Linked DNA regions of Homo sapiens: region 1 is linked to region 2. The links are contacts of gene promoters, found by promoter capture Hi-C in human tissues and cell types (Jung and others, 2019). All regions are on one chromosome and are shown on one strand. The core of a region is centred on a gene start or on the middle of the fragment in contact, and the rest is flanking DNA. Distances in the headings are between cores, read along the strand shown.

The links. Contacts are between HindIII fragments. The study calls those that stand out against the background at their distance.
Region 1: a contact is called between a fragment that was not itself captured here and the fragment with the promoter of MEOX1 in region 2, in 3 of the 25 tissues and cell types used here (IMR-90 fibroblasts, liver and neural progenitor cells).

The regions. Positions count from the first base shown.
Region 1 is chr17:43,372,301-43,379,052 of GRCh38, forward strand. LINC00910 (long intergenic non-protein coding RNA 910) reads right to left here. Exons shown (of 6, transcript NR_027412.1): 4 at 5,371-5,513. It overlaps LOC105371785 (a long non-coding RNA gene), which reads left to right. Exons shown (of 2, transcript XR_007065761.1): 2 at 286-1,509. Among named protein-coding and RNA genes, the nearest start is that of LINC00910, 13 kb to the right of the region's middle. The HindIII fragment of the contact is 6,395 bases long and covers 2,232-6,752 here.
Region 2 is chr17:43,658,329-43,665,050 of GRCh38, forward strand. It overlaps MEOX1 (mesenchyme homeobox 1), which reads right to left and starts at 3,594. Exons shown (of 3, transcript NM_004527.4): 1 at 2,738-3,594. The coding sequence starts at 3,206. LINC02594 (long intergenic non-protein coding RNA 2594) reads left to right here and starts at 6,536. Exons shown (of 4, transcript NR_184089.1): 1 at 6,536-6,671. RefSeq lists an enhancer at 2,347-2,888. The HindIII fragment of the contact is 25,285 bases long and covers 1-6,722 here.

The sequences.
Region 1 (6,752 bases), core at 4,179-6,678, 280 kb before region 2:
GAAAGACAGCTGGGCCCAGGGGGCCACTACCATCAATGCACGGAGTCCAGTAGTGGCCCCGAATGCCTGAAGGTGCTGCTATTTATTGTATACAAGGCAAGGGGGCAGGGTAAGGAGAGTGAGTCATCCCAAGTGATTGATAAGGTCAAGCAAATCACATGGGGGTCTTCTTTGTGGTAGCAGAAGCAGAGAGAGGACCACATATGTCAGCATTTTTTCTATGCACTTATCAGAGAGATCAAAGACTTTAATACTTTCACTAATTCTGCTACTGCTATCTTCTAGGAACTTAAAAGAGGAACCAGGTGTACAGGCAGAACATGAAAGTGGAAAGGAGCGTGGCCACTGAAGCACAGCACCACAGGGAGGGGTTTAGTCCTCCAGATGACTGCGAGCAGGGCTGGATAATGTCAGACCTCCCACTAGAGCTGGTGGAGCAGAGTGTTCTCTAACTTCCCCCAAGGAAAGGGAAACTCCCTTTCCCGGTCCGCTAAGTAACGGGTGCCTTCCCAGGCACTGGCGCTACCGCTAGACCAAGGTGTCCTCAAGCGGCCTTTATCAGGATGTGATAGAGGACTTTCACTCTTATCTTCTGCTCACTTCTCACAATGTCCCTTCAGCTCCTGACTCTGTATTGGCTGGTCTTTCCTCGGTTATAATAATAATACAGAGATTAATACTAAAAACTAATGATTGATAATATCCATATATAATCATCTCTATATCCTATTTCTTTTTCTTTTTTTTTTTTTTTTTGACATGGAGTTTCACTCTGTCGCCCAGGCTGGAGTGCAGTGGCGTGATCTCAGCTCACTGCAAGCTCCACCTCCTGGATTCATACCATTCTCTCGCCTCAGCCTCCTGAGTAGCTGGGACTACAGGCGCCTGCCACCATGCCTAGCTAATTTTTTGTTTTTGTATTTTTAGTAGAGACAGGGTTTCACCCTGTTAGCCAGGATGGTCTCAATCTCCTGACCTCGTGATCCGCCCACCTTGGCCTCCCAAAGTGCTGGGAGCCACTGCATCCAGCTCTATTTCCTACTTCTAATATAACTTTTCTTATTCTAACTATTTTCTTTACTATATTGGAACAGGTTGTGCCCTCAGTCTCTTGCCTCAGCACCTGGGTAGGTTTCCGCCTACATGTAACCAGTGACTTCAAATATTCTGTTTTATCTAAGAAGTACAACGAAGGTCATGAGAAGCCTGAGTAGGCCTGAACTACAGCTGCCTGGGCACCATAGTGAAGGTTATAGGATAAGCCCATGCCCAGACAAACCTAGATAACGGACATCTGGGTTACTTGGCAACAGTCATGTGCAATCCTGTCTTTGTCCTGCCTCTGTATTGCTGCTTTTCACACCACTGTAAGCTTGCTTCAAGCTAGCCCACCACCTTCTGTGAAGTATGTATAAAAGTCAGATGCTGTCTTTGTTCCGGGCCCAGTCTTTTGGACGTTGAGTCAGCTGGGCCTGAGTGCACTCAATAAAGATTCTAGTTTCAACCTGAGGTCTCTCTCGTCCTCCTGAATCCTGCAACATTTCCAGTAGAGACAGGATTTCACCATGTTGGCCAGACTGGCCTCAAACGCCTGACATCAAGTGATCTGCCCACCTCTACCTCTCAAAGTGCTGGGATTACATGCGTGAGCCACCATGCTCTACCGTTTTCTTCCCTTTTTAAACAGAATAAAACTCATTATGTCTTGCAATGACCATATAGATCTATTGGTAGGCCCTCTTATAACCTGTCAGCACCATCCAGCCAAAGGCCACCAGGAACACACCTGTCATGACATGAGTTAGCTTTGAGGGAGAACGTTTTGCATGCCACGGGGAACTGTGGGGCAAATAAGTAAGAGGGTGTCAGGGATGGTTTATTACAGGATTTGGGCATGTGTTAGGTGGTTTGAGGAGTCCTTTCTCTGGGATGCTCTCAGGAAGTGGGGGTAATTCTATGATTGAGGATCTTAACAAATTTCACCAAGAAGGAGGGAAGAGTAGAGGAAGGCCAAAGCCGTAATTGGCTAAAGTAGCAGCAGTCGATCCTATTAGCCAGGACATGGGGTATGGCCTGGCTGTGAATCCCAGACCCACTTCTGGTTCTGCTTTTCTCTTTCCAAAAATCCAAGACATATTGTGGGATCTTAGCGGTCTTACTTCTTCTGCATCTTGAAATGATTTGCTATTTCATCATCCTGGGAAATCTTCTGTAGTTAATTCATTGATTCCCAAAAATGACTTAAGAGTCTTCAAGAGGCCAGGCACGGTGGCTTATGCCTTAATCCCAGCACTTTGGGAGGCCGAGGCGGGCGGATCATGAGGTCAGGAGTTTGAGACCAGCCTGGCCAACATAGTGAAACTGTGTCTCTACTAAAAATACAAAAATTAGCCGGGCATGGTGGTGCATGCCTATAATCCCAGCTACTCAGGAGGCTGAGGCAGGAGAATCGCTTGAATCTGAGAGGCGGAGGTTGCAGTGAGAGGATTGTGCCACTGCACTGCAGCCTGGGTGACAGATTGAGACTCTCTCAAAAAAAAAAAAAAAAAAAAAGAGGTGTAAGAATTAAAGAGGAAAGAAACATGAAAGGGGATGGGCAGTGGGGAAGTGGAGTAACATGTACCACAGAGTAACAGAGGGAGGGGTGGTAGAAGGTGATTGGAGAGTGTGACCCTGGAAGTGGATGGTGGATGGCGTTATGGCATCAGCAATGACAAGATCTAGACTTAGACCAGGGAAGTGAGTGGCTGGGGTACGTAAGGCCTAGGTCAAGGAACTGGGGAACTGGGTGTCAACTGATGACAGGAGTTATGTTGGAAAGTGAGCCAGGAGCTAAAACCTTCAAGGAATAAGTAAGTGTTGGCATGAGTGTGACTGGCCACCAGGACAGATGACAGCAATAAAGGGAGGTAGTGGGCAGTATGGGTACAAGGCACAATGGAATGAGGGGTGGGGAGAACCAACAGAGAAAGGAAAGCAATCAATGTCCTTAGTGGAGGATAAAGCGAAAGAAGAAAGGAGGCTGGGAATAGGGAGGACAGCAGGAAAATGAGCAAGGTTTCAGGAATCAGACACGGGATAAGAGATGAAGCTTCTTGTGCCTGACCCACACAGAGCAGAAATGCAGAACTTCAGGGTCATTCTACAGTGAGTGGCAGATACATGGAAGACAGCTGCAGCATTAGTTCTTTGCACTCACTACCTGGGGGATGTCACCTCTGTCCAAGTATAATGCCCAGGGGGTTCTCCTTGCCTGCTGCCTAAACAGAGCTGATTCATCAGAACAGGGGAATTGCAATAGAGAAAGAGTAATTTGGCTGGGTGCAGTGGCTCACACCTGTAATCCCAGCACTTTGGGAGGCCAAGGCAGGTGAATCACCTAAGGTCAGGAGTTTGAGACCAACCTGGCCAACACAGTGAAACCCTGTCTGTACTAAAAATACCAAAAATTAGCCGGGCGTGGTGGCACGTGCCTATAATCCCAGCTATTGGGGAGGCTGAGGCAGGAGAATCGCTTGAACCTGAGAGGCGGAGGATGCTGTGAGCCAAGATCCTGCCATTGCACTCCAGCCTGGGCAACGAAAGTGAAACTCCATCTCAAAAAAGAAAGAGTAATTCACGCAGGGCTGGCTGTGTGGGAGACCGGAGTTTTATTATTACCCAAATCAGTCTACCCGAGCATTTGGGGAGCAGACTTTTTAAGGACAACTTGGTGGGTAGGGGGAAGCCAGTGAGCCCAGGAGTGCTGATTGGTCAGGGATGAAATCATAGGGAGTTGAAGCTGTCTCCTTGTGCTGATTAAGTTCCTGGGTGGGGACCACAAGATCACATGAGCCAGTTAATCAGTCTGGGTGGTGCCAGCTGATCCATCAAGTGCAGGGTCTGCAAAATATCTCAAGCACTGATCTTAGGAGCAGTTTAGGGAGGGTCAGAATCTTGTAGCCTCCAGCTGCATGACTCCTAAAGCATAATTTCTAAACTTTTTTTTTTTGAGACAGAGTCTCACTCTGTCGCCCAAGCTGGAGTGCAGTGGCAAGATCCTGGCTCACTGCAACCTCCACGCCGCCTCCCAGGTTCAAGCGATCCTCCCACCTCAGCTTCCCAAGTAGCTGGCAGTATAGGCATGTGCCACCATAACCGGCTAATTTTTGTATTCTTTAGTAGAGATGGGGTTTCACCACGTTGGCCAGGCTGGTCTTGAACTCCTGACCTCAGGTGATCTACCTGCCGTGGCCTCCCAAAGTGCTGGGATTACAGGGGTGAGCCACGAGGCCCAGCCCATAATTTCTAATCTCGTGGCTAATGTTAGTCCTCCAAAGGCAACCTAGTCCCCAGGCAAGAAGGAAGTCTGCCTTGGGAAAGGGCTGTTAACATCTTTGTTTTAAACTATAAAATAAAATATAAACTAAGCTTCTCCCAAAGTTAGTTCAGGCTATGCTCAGGAATGAATAAGGACAATTTGGAGGTTAGAAGCAAGATTGGGTCGGTTAAGTTAGATCTCTTTCACTGTCTCAGTCATAATTTTGCAAAAGCGGTTTCACAAGCAGTCAATACCAGGAGCCTCTGAAGACCACCATAGCAGTCCTCAGTGCCAGGCAAATCCACTAAAATAGAAACACCAGGCTTTGCCAAGAAGGGAAAACAAAAAGAAAAACAAAACAACTTTATCGCACATTTCATTAGAATTTCAGGGACAGGCTGGGTGTGGTGGCTCACAACTGTAATCCCAGCAATTTGGGAGGCCCAGGTGGGTAGATCACTTTGAGGCCAGGAGATCAAGACCAGCCTGGCCAATATGTCGAAACCCATCTCTACTATAAATACAAAACATTAGCCAGACATGGTGGCACGCACCTGTGATCCTAGATACTCCAGAGGCTGAGGCACAAGAATCACTTGAACCTGGGAGGCAGAGGTTGCAGTGAGTTGAGATTGCATCACTGCACTCCAGCCTGGGTGAGAGAGAGAGACTCGAATTTCCATGGACAGGCATTCATGTTCAGGAGAAGGGGGGTCTGGGCACTGGAGTTGGAGGAAAGAGCCTCAGTAAAGGTACAGAAACGTTAAGCACAGGGCAATCAGAAAATGAGGGGACCGGTTCATACATCTATGACCCATCCAGCCACCTGGGAAGGTAGGATCTGGGCCTTAGCCTGTCCCAGAGAATGCAGTAATGCCCTGTCCCAGAGAATGCAGGCTCCACGTGGGCTCCTTCCTACTGTAATTGCCCCCATTACACCCACATCCATCCCCTCACAGACTGGTTTATGTGCCAGACTCAGCCAGCGGGTGGAGCTTCTCCCGGGAAGCCACACCTCCACCTCCCCAACACGCAGCACCCCAGCCTCGCTCTGACAGGCTCTTCCTTACATCATGGCAGTTTTTCATCAGGGAACCACTGTCTCCACAAGCCAAATGCTGTTGTAGGCCAATCAGACTCTGAAATCCATGCACCTTTGTTAGCAGGTCATCGTGGAGGATGCACCCATCGAAGGTGGCCTTCCACCCCCGTCCTATAAAAAGAAGGCCACTTCAGCAAATAGAATAAAGAGTCTGACAATGTCTTTTTTTTTTTTTTTTTTTTTTTAACTTTCTTGTTATGGACCAATCAGTAACCATGATCACGACCACATTTGAGAATCAGGGCTCTTTGCAGCTGGGGCAATACTTCTGGATCGGGAGCAACTTATCATGGAGGACCTGGTATTAGAGGACACGTTGACAACATAGAATAATACAGGCAAGTACGATCAAGGCATTAAAAGTCCTCACATCAAGATGGACATGGCCTTCTCCCAGTCCATTCCACATACAGCATTTATTTGGCCGGCACTGCTGTCTATTTCTTCAAGAATGCATTTTCTCCTAATCATTCCATTTCAAACAGAGCCACGGCTTTAAATGCTTAGGTTAATTTCAAAAGAGGTGAGTCCCTTTCAGCATCTCATGGGGCATACTGTATCTCCTTTCTTTCTTTCTGTTTTATTTTATTTTATTTTATTTTTTTGAGACAGAGTTTCACTCTCGTTGCCCAGGCTGGAGTGCAATGGCGCGATCTCAGCTCACCGCAACCTCTGCCTCCTGAGTTCAAGCGATTCTCCTGCCTCAGCCTCCTGAGTAGCTGGGATTACAGGCATGTGCCACCACGCCTGGCTAATTTTGTATTTTTAGTAGAGACAGGGTTTCTCCATTTTGGTCAGGCTGGTCTCAAACTCCTGACCTCAGGTGATCCACCTGCTTCAGCCTCCCAAGGTGCTGGGATTACAGGCGTGAGCCACCGCACCCGGCCTGTATCTCCTTTCAAAAAGAGCTGCTGTCCTTGTCCACTTTGGGAAGCCAAGGAGGGCGGATCACCTGAGGACAGGAGTTCTAGGCCAGCCTGGCCAACATGGTGAAACACTGTCTCTACTAAAAATACAAAAATTAATTTACAATGAGCTGATGGACCCACCCGGGGTCAAGACAGTGACCAAGCGAAATGGGCGTGGGCGTCACGAGGTGTCTGCGGAAGGAAGTTGGAGGAGAGTGGTCCGAGCTCTTTTGAGGAAAGCCATTACTGTGAAGAGCGGAGCTTCAGCGGTCTGGCTGGGTCGGAGGCGAAAGCGGAGCCCATGAGCCCCCTCTCCCCCACTGGGGGGGGACTTCCCGGGGCCGCAGAGAGAAGTCCGACTGCGACTGCGAGATCGCGCCCTGAGGGGGCTGCCGCCCTGGGAGTCACAGCCCCGCCCCTCTCCCTGCCCTGTCAGTGGGGA
Region 2 (6,722 bases), core at 2,344-4,843:
AAACCCCGACTCTACTAAAAATACAAAAATTAGCCGGGAGAGGGGGCGTGCGCCTATAATCCCAGCTACTCAGGAGGCTGAGACAGGAGAATTGCTTGAACCCAAGGGGCAGAGGTTGCAGTGAATTGAAACTATGCCACTGCACTCCAGCATGGGCGTTAGAGTGAGACTCCATCTCAAAAAAAAAAAAAAAAGAATATTTTAAGGCAATATTTGTAAAAATCAAAAGTAATGCAAAAAATTGATAATGAACAAAATATCACAATTTTGGAGAGGGGATCCAATTATAGACTCAGGATTGGCAGGGTTGGGTGGGGGGCTCTCTGTGGGTTTGCCTTTTCTGAGCTGAATTCCAGATTCCTGGAGTAGGTCATGAGCCTTGCGTCACTTTCCCCCTTCTTTGGGCTCTTACAAAGCTGATCTTTCTTGCCTCCTTCCTCCCCTTCAGTTAAATTCCAAAGGAGGATGCAAGCATTGCGGCAATAAAGATTTCCATGCTGAACAGTGAGTTTGTCTGGAATCACAGGGGGATGAGTGAGAGTCAGCTCACTGGGCCCTGCCTCATCTGCTGCTGGTGCTCCTGAGGGGACCCTTAGGGAAGCCCAGGGCCCCTGCGGATGGGAACCTCCCTCCACCAAAGTCTGACCCTGAAGCATGCAGGCCGTTCAGCCGAGGGTGTCCCTGTACTCCTGGGTGGCCAGCTGCTTAGTGTGAATGGTCTCTCTGCATTGCAGGGCCATCGGCCACTCGCCAAAAAGAGAGCTGGTGCATTTGGGTTTTGCTGAGACTCGGAATGCTGGAAGATTCTGCCTGAGCCCAGCAGGCTCTTGGCTTTGCTATCCCTTCCCAATGCCCTTGGCTGTCAGTTCTCTGGAAAGTGGCAGAGAGGAAGGAGCCACAGTGCTGCGTGCCGCCACCAAGGGGAAAGCTCTTCAACCAGGTTCAGAGCCAAGTCGCTGAGAGTTGCTTCTCATCCTTAGCACATTTCCTACCAGGGGCAGGATGAGTTAATTTTCGGGATGGGGATCTAACTGGCTGGCGGTTTAAAGGGCCCTTCTATTTAGCAGCCATGAGGGCTGCTAGAGTTCCTATCTCCCATTGAAGAAGGGGCTTCTTCAAGCAGACAGACCAAACATCATTTCAAAATGAGGACTGCATTTGAAATCTACTGAAGGGGGTGATACCGGGGGCCTGAAGCCTGGGGTTTGAGCTCACTTCTAGGGTGACCAATTCTTCTGTTTGCCTGGGACTGTGGGGTTTCCTACGACAGGATTTTCAGTGCTAAAACTGGAAAAGTCCTGGGCAAATGGAGATGAGCTGCTCACTCTAGTTTGACCCCATTCTTTCTGTGTTCTCACCAACTTTCAGTCTTTCATTTTGCAGATTGAGAGAATCAAGGTACTAATAAAACCTGCTGTCCCCATCTCCCAAACCCGTGGGACTCAAAAGAGCTGACGTCAGTATCCCATGGCACCTTAAGCCTCCCCATCAGGGCACATCCCACTGCTGACACACCTCTGCAGGCCTCTTCTTCCTCTCAGTTTGAGCTTTCTTGGGTGAGACCCCTTTATTCATCTCAGAGCATTCCTGGGCTTGGCTAAGAGCAGAAACTCGGGAAAGCTGTGCTTATAAAGCAAAGCACAAAGCATTCCCACCTGTTGGTTGGTGTCCTTCTTTTCTGTCCTGCCCTGGTTAGCCCCATGGGAAGGTCCTCTACAGGCTCCGACAGACAGGCGTGCCCCTGAGGGCGGCTGTCAGGAGGAAAACAGGGCAGCACGGGCAGGAGGCTTGGTCACTGCTTTGTTCTGAACGAGGCCGGGACAAGGAACCAGACAAAAGGTGGACAGGTATAGTGAGCAACCAGGGAGGGCCTGGTGGGGAGGTGAGGAAGCAGCAGGTCCCCACCCTGGGGAAGAGAAGGGCTTTAGCTGGAATCTTAACAAATAGGCCAATCTCATCCTCCAGCCTCTGGGACTCCAGCACGGACTCCCTTGGCTGCCTGCCTCCCTGACTCTCTCAGAGGCTGCCCATCCCTTGCAGCTCCTTGCGGGGCTGCCTTCCTGGGGGGTCAGCCAGATCTCAGCATGCTGAGTTGTCTGTCCCCTTGGCCTGGACATGGCCCAGCTCCGCAGGGTGATATCTGGTGGGCAGTCTGCCCCAAACCTCAGCCCTCCATCTCCCCCTCACCCCTTGATTCTCCCATCCCAGCCGCAGGCCTGCTTCTCTGCCTCTAGGCTCCTGGACACATAGGGTCTTGGCTTTGGGTGGCCACCCAGGGTCCCAGCTTCAGTCTTAGCTCTCAGAGCCTTAACCTCAGCTGAACTTCCCTGGTAAGCGAGCCCTGTGGCTCTAGGACCACTTGGGGCTGGCCAAAGCATGGTGGGGAGGAGGATGACTCAATGGCAGCCTGATTCAGGAAAGCCCCTCACCAGCCCTCGCCAGTCTGCACCCAGAGGATCCATTTCACGTGTCCTCCAAATCCTGGCTGATCCTGTTTCATTCTCTTGCTGGACACCCTTTCTGGGGCCCAGGAGTGCTGGGACACAGACATGGTCCCCATCACCAGAGAATCCTAGAACTCTCAGTGGAAGAAACCCCAAAGGTAACTGGTCCAGTCTCCTGCATTTGGATGGACTAGACAGAAATTCATGCTCAGAGCACCTAGGCACAGAGAGGGTGAGTAACTTCCCCAGGGTCACACAGTAAAGGAATGATCAGCTGCTCCTGAGCCACCTACCTGAACTCTCCTTTCTCCGCCTGGATGATTTCTTCTCTGTCTCATTGGCAGTGCTCCCAAGCACCCCGTAGTCATCGCCTGGGCCTCCTGTGGTGTCCACCAGGCCCAGGCTGCTGGTCCCCATTTCCTTGGAACCCCCTGCCGGGCCTGAGTTGGGCCTGCGCCGGGCGTCTGAGACAGGGAAGTGCCAGTTGGGGGACTGTGGGAAAGCGGGGTGCTGCTCAGTGAAGATGTGCTCCTCCTGGGGCAGGCTGTGTGGGGTGGCTGCCAGGCAGGAGGCTGAGAAGTCAGGGTACGCTGCCGTCGCTGTCGCCAGGAAGTCTGGTTTCTGGTGGAAGGAGAACGGGGTGGGCGGGTAGTGGGGTAGCCCTGAGGCCCCATTGCCTTCCGAGTGGGGGTTTCGAAGGCAGCCCCAGACAGGGGCTGGGGGCTGGAGGCTCCTCATGCAGCTGCTGGCCGCGGGATCCATCTGCTGTCCGCTGCACGCCTCGGTCCTTTCAAAGATTTGATTCTTTATACTTTTTATGTTCAAATTTTTAAAAATGCAAAAGAAAAAAAACTAAATAGGAGGGAAAAATGTTCAACAGAAAATTTACCCCAGGAACCAAAAAAAAAAAAAAACCCAAAACTAAAGTCTCTCCTTAAAGTACACACACATGTGGCCAGCTACTCCTATGTGTGTGCACACACCTATGTCGGGCTTGCTCCTGCCCCTCCAATGCACCAGCCTACCTACTGGGATCCCCTGTATGTGTATTTGTCGCCAATGACACTAAACATTTTCACTGTCCCAACCCAGACGCACCAGCTGACGAGGAGTTCGTCCTGGAGCCCAGAGCAAATGCCTGCAGAGGGCTGGACCAGGGCTGCTGGGACACACTTTTAAATCCTGCGGTGGGGAGAGAGTGACAAATTTCTGAAGTGAAATGTGAGAGAGGAGAGGGAGGGGTTAACCCACACACACAAGATCCCCTCCAACCAAAACCCTAGCAGGCAACTATTAATCATCAGAAACCTTATATGCACATCTAATGGGATTTGCAGATGGAGACTTTTAAAGAAACATTGTCTGTATTTTTTTTTTAAGGAAAGAGAGCAGCACACACACACATACACACACACCGTCTTTAATGTGCCTCCTGTAACACTATGAAGTTATTTTTATTGCACTGTTAACAAAATTCCCCAAGTCTTGGATTTAGAAAAAGCCTTAAGTCAGATCCAGAATCCATCAAATGCCAAATTCCAGGGAGTGAAGTGAGGAATAAGAGCAAGAGACAAGCTTGGTGATTGCATTTGATTTAAAGGCCCTTCTACTGCTGCCTGCGAAAAAGGAAGGTGGATTAAAAGAAATCTTTTTTGCAAGTCTCAGCGGCCCACTGTGGTCTGCAGTACAAAGAAAGGCACACTCTAGAAAAAAAGAATTTCTCTCTGCCCAGAGTGACATTCTCACTTTCTCAGTAACTTAAAAAAACAATCAGATTCTTCCTTCCGCTCTTTAACCTCCAACATACATGCCAATTAGCCACACTCTTCTCTAGAGAGGTTTCAAGTCATTTTTCTTCACAGCAATGGCAAGGCTCTTAAATAAGGTCCTTGAAGTTTCTTCGGGTCTCCTCCCACCTGCTCCCTGCCCCCTTCACCTCCACCCACCTGCTTCCCTTTCTCATCCCCCAGAGGCGGAGGCTTCCGAGGAATTTGGGGTAGGGAAATAGGAATCAGGGGCTCCTCATTCCCCAAAGGAGCCTCTTTGGCAAGCAGGCACGTGGGTCTCCGGGCTGGTGCACATCACAGGGCAGCCAGCCCAAGTGCCATCTTGATGCCCAGTCTTCCTCATGGCTGCGCCCTGCTGGTCTCTCAGAGGGTTAATGCAATTTCTTGGAGGACGACATTCCTAACACCCAGGGGCCAGAACTCCTTCCCCACTGGTTATTCCCATGGCCCAGAGCAGCAGGATGGGGGCAGAAACAGGCATGGACCTTAACAGCAGCGTCTCTGCTGGCTGCTTCCAAAGACGGCGAGGGTTCCCTGAGGAGGGGCCCCTAGGTCTTAGCTCTGCAGCCTGGAGGTGGGGCCCTGGGGGGTGGGTGCAGGAGATGCTCCTAGGAGGAGCCGAAGGGCACCCAGGGATGTGGAATGAAGCCACGACTGGCCTTTAATCCAGAAACTCCAGTCAGATACACATCCTGGGAGCAGGAGCAGCTGTAAAAGATGGGGAGGGGTGTACATATGAAAAGATGTGCCCTCTTCTGGAACAAGCGGTCAGAGTGTTGTAGACCAGTAGAGTGGATGGGGTCATAGCTGTCAACCAGACTCATCTTTCTGCTTTGCCCAGGGCTTAGCTGTGGCACACACAATTCTCTGAGCCTCACAACTTTCCTAGGATGGGTAAGTAAGAATTATGTCTCCATTTTGCAGATGACAAAACCGAGGCTCAGATGGATGACTGGGCTGCCCAGACTCACACAGCTAAGAAATGGTGGAATCAGCACTTGGCCTCAGGTGTCCTGCTGTTCAGTTTGGAGCAGGCCAGATGCAGAGGAGGAGGCATGGGGTTTGAGGTTAGACGGGTCTGAGTTCAAGCCCCAGGTCTGCCACTTCCTGGCTGTGTGCCCTGGAACAAGTCACCTTATCTCTCTGAACTTCTTTTTTTTTTTTTTCTTTTTGAGATGGAGTCTCGTTCTGTCGCCCAGGCTGGAGTGCAGTGGCATGATCTCAGCTCACTGCAAGCTCCGCCTCCCGGGCTCACGCCATTCTCTTGCCTCAGCCTCCCGAGTAGCTGGGACTACAAGCACCCGCCACCACGCCCGGCTAATTTTTTGTATTTTTTAGTAGAGACGGGGTTTCACCGTGTTAGCCAGGATGGTCTCAATCTCCTGACCTCGTGATCCGCCCGCCTCGGCCTCCCAAAGTGCTGGGATTACAGGCATGAGCCACCATGCCTGGCCATCTCTCTGAACTTCTGTTTCCTCATCTGAGATGACAGTCAGAGTGGGATCTGTGTAAGGCACTTTGCACCTTACACATTTTTACCCCCACGGATTCCCACAAAAGCCTTCTGAGGCAACAGTCATTCTCATCAGCTCCGTTTCTCTCTCTCTCTTTTTTTTTTATCAGCTCCGTTTTTCAGCAGAAGACTCTGATGCACAGATAGACTGTGTAACCTGCACAAGGCCACACAGCAGGGAAGCGGCGGACCCAGGATTCAAATTGAGGCAGCCCAGCCCACAGACATTTGCAAATCTTCAATGAAATCCTTTATGTAGGCCAGGCACGGTGGCTCAGACCTATAATCCCAGCACTTTGGAAGGCTGAGGCAGGCAGATCATTTGAGGCCAGGAGTTCAAGACCAGCCCGGCCAACATGGTAAAACCCCGTCTCTAATAGAAATACAAAAATTAGGCCGGGCGCGGTGGCTCACGCCTGTAATCCCACCACTTTGGGAGGCCGAGGCGGGTGGATCATGCGGTCAGGAGATCGAGACCATCCTGGCTAACACAGTGAAACCCCGTCTCTACTAGAAATACAAAAAAAAAAAAAAAAAGGCGGGCGTGGTGGCGGGCGCCTGTAGTCCCAGCTACTTGGGAGGCTGAAGCAGGAGAATGGTGTGAACCCGGGAAGCAGAGCTTGCAGTGCACCGAGATCACGTCACTGCACTCCAGCCTGGGTGACAGAGCGAGACTCCATCTCAAAAAAAAAAAAAAAAAGAAATACAAAAATTAGCTGGGTGTGGTGGCACATGCCTGTAATCCCAGCTACTCGGGAGGCTGAGGGCAGGAGAATCGCTTGAGCCTGGGAAGCAGAGAGGTTGCGGTAAGCCAAGATTGTACAACTGCACTCCGGCCTGGGCGACAGAGTGAGACACTGTCTCAAAAAAAAAAAAAAAGAAAAAGAAAAAGAAATAAAGAAAGAAATCCTTTATGCAAAAGGCAGAGTAAGTAATGGACAAATGTGGCTCCCTTCCTAGCACATCTATTTCTGGTTA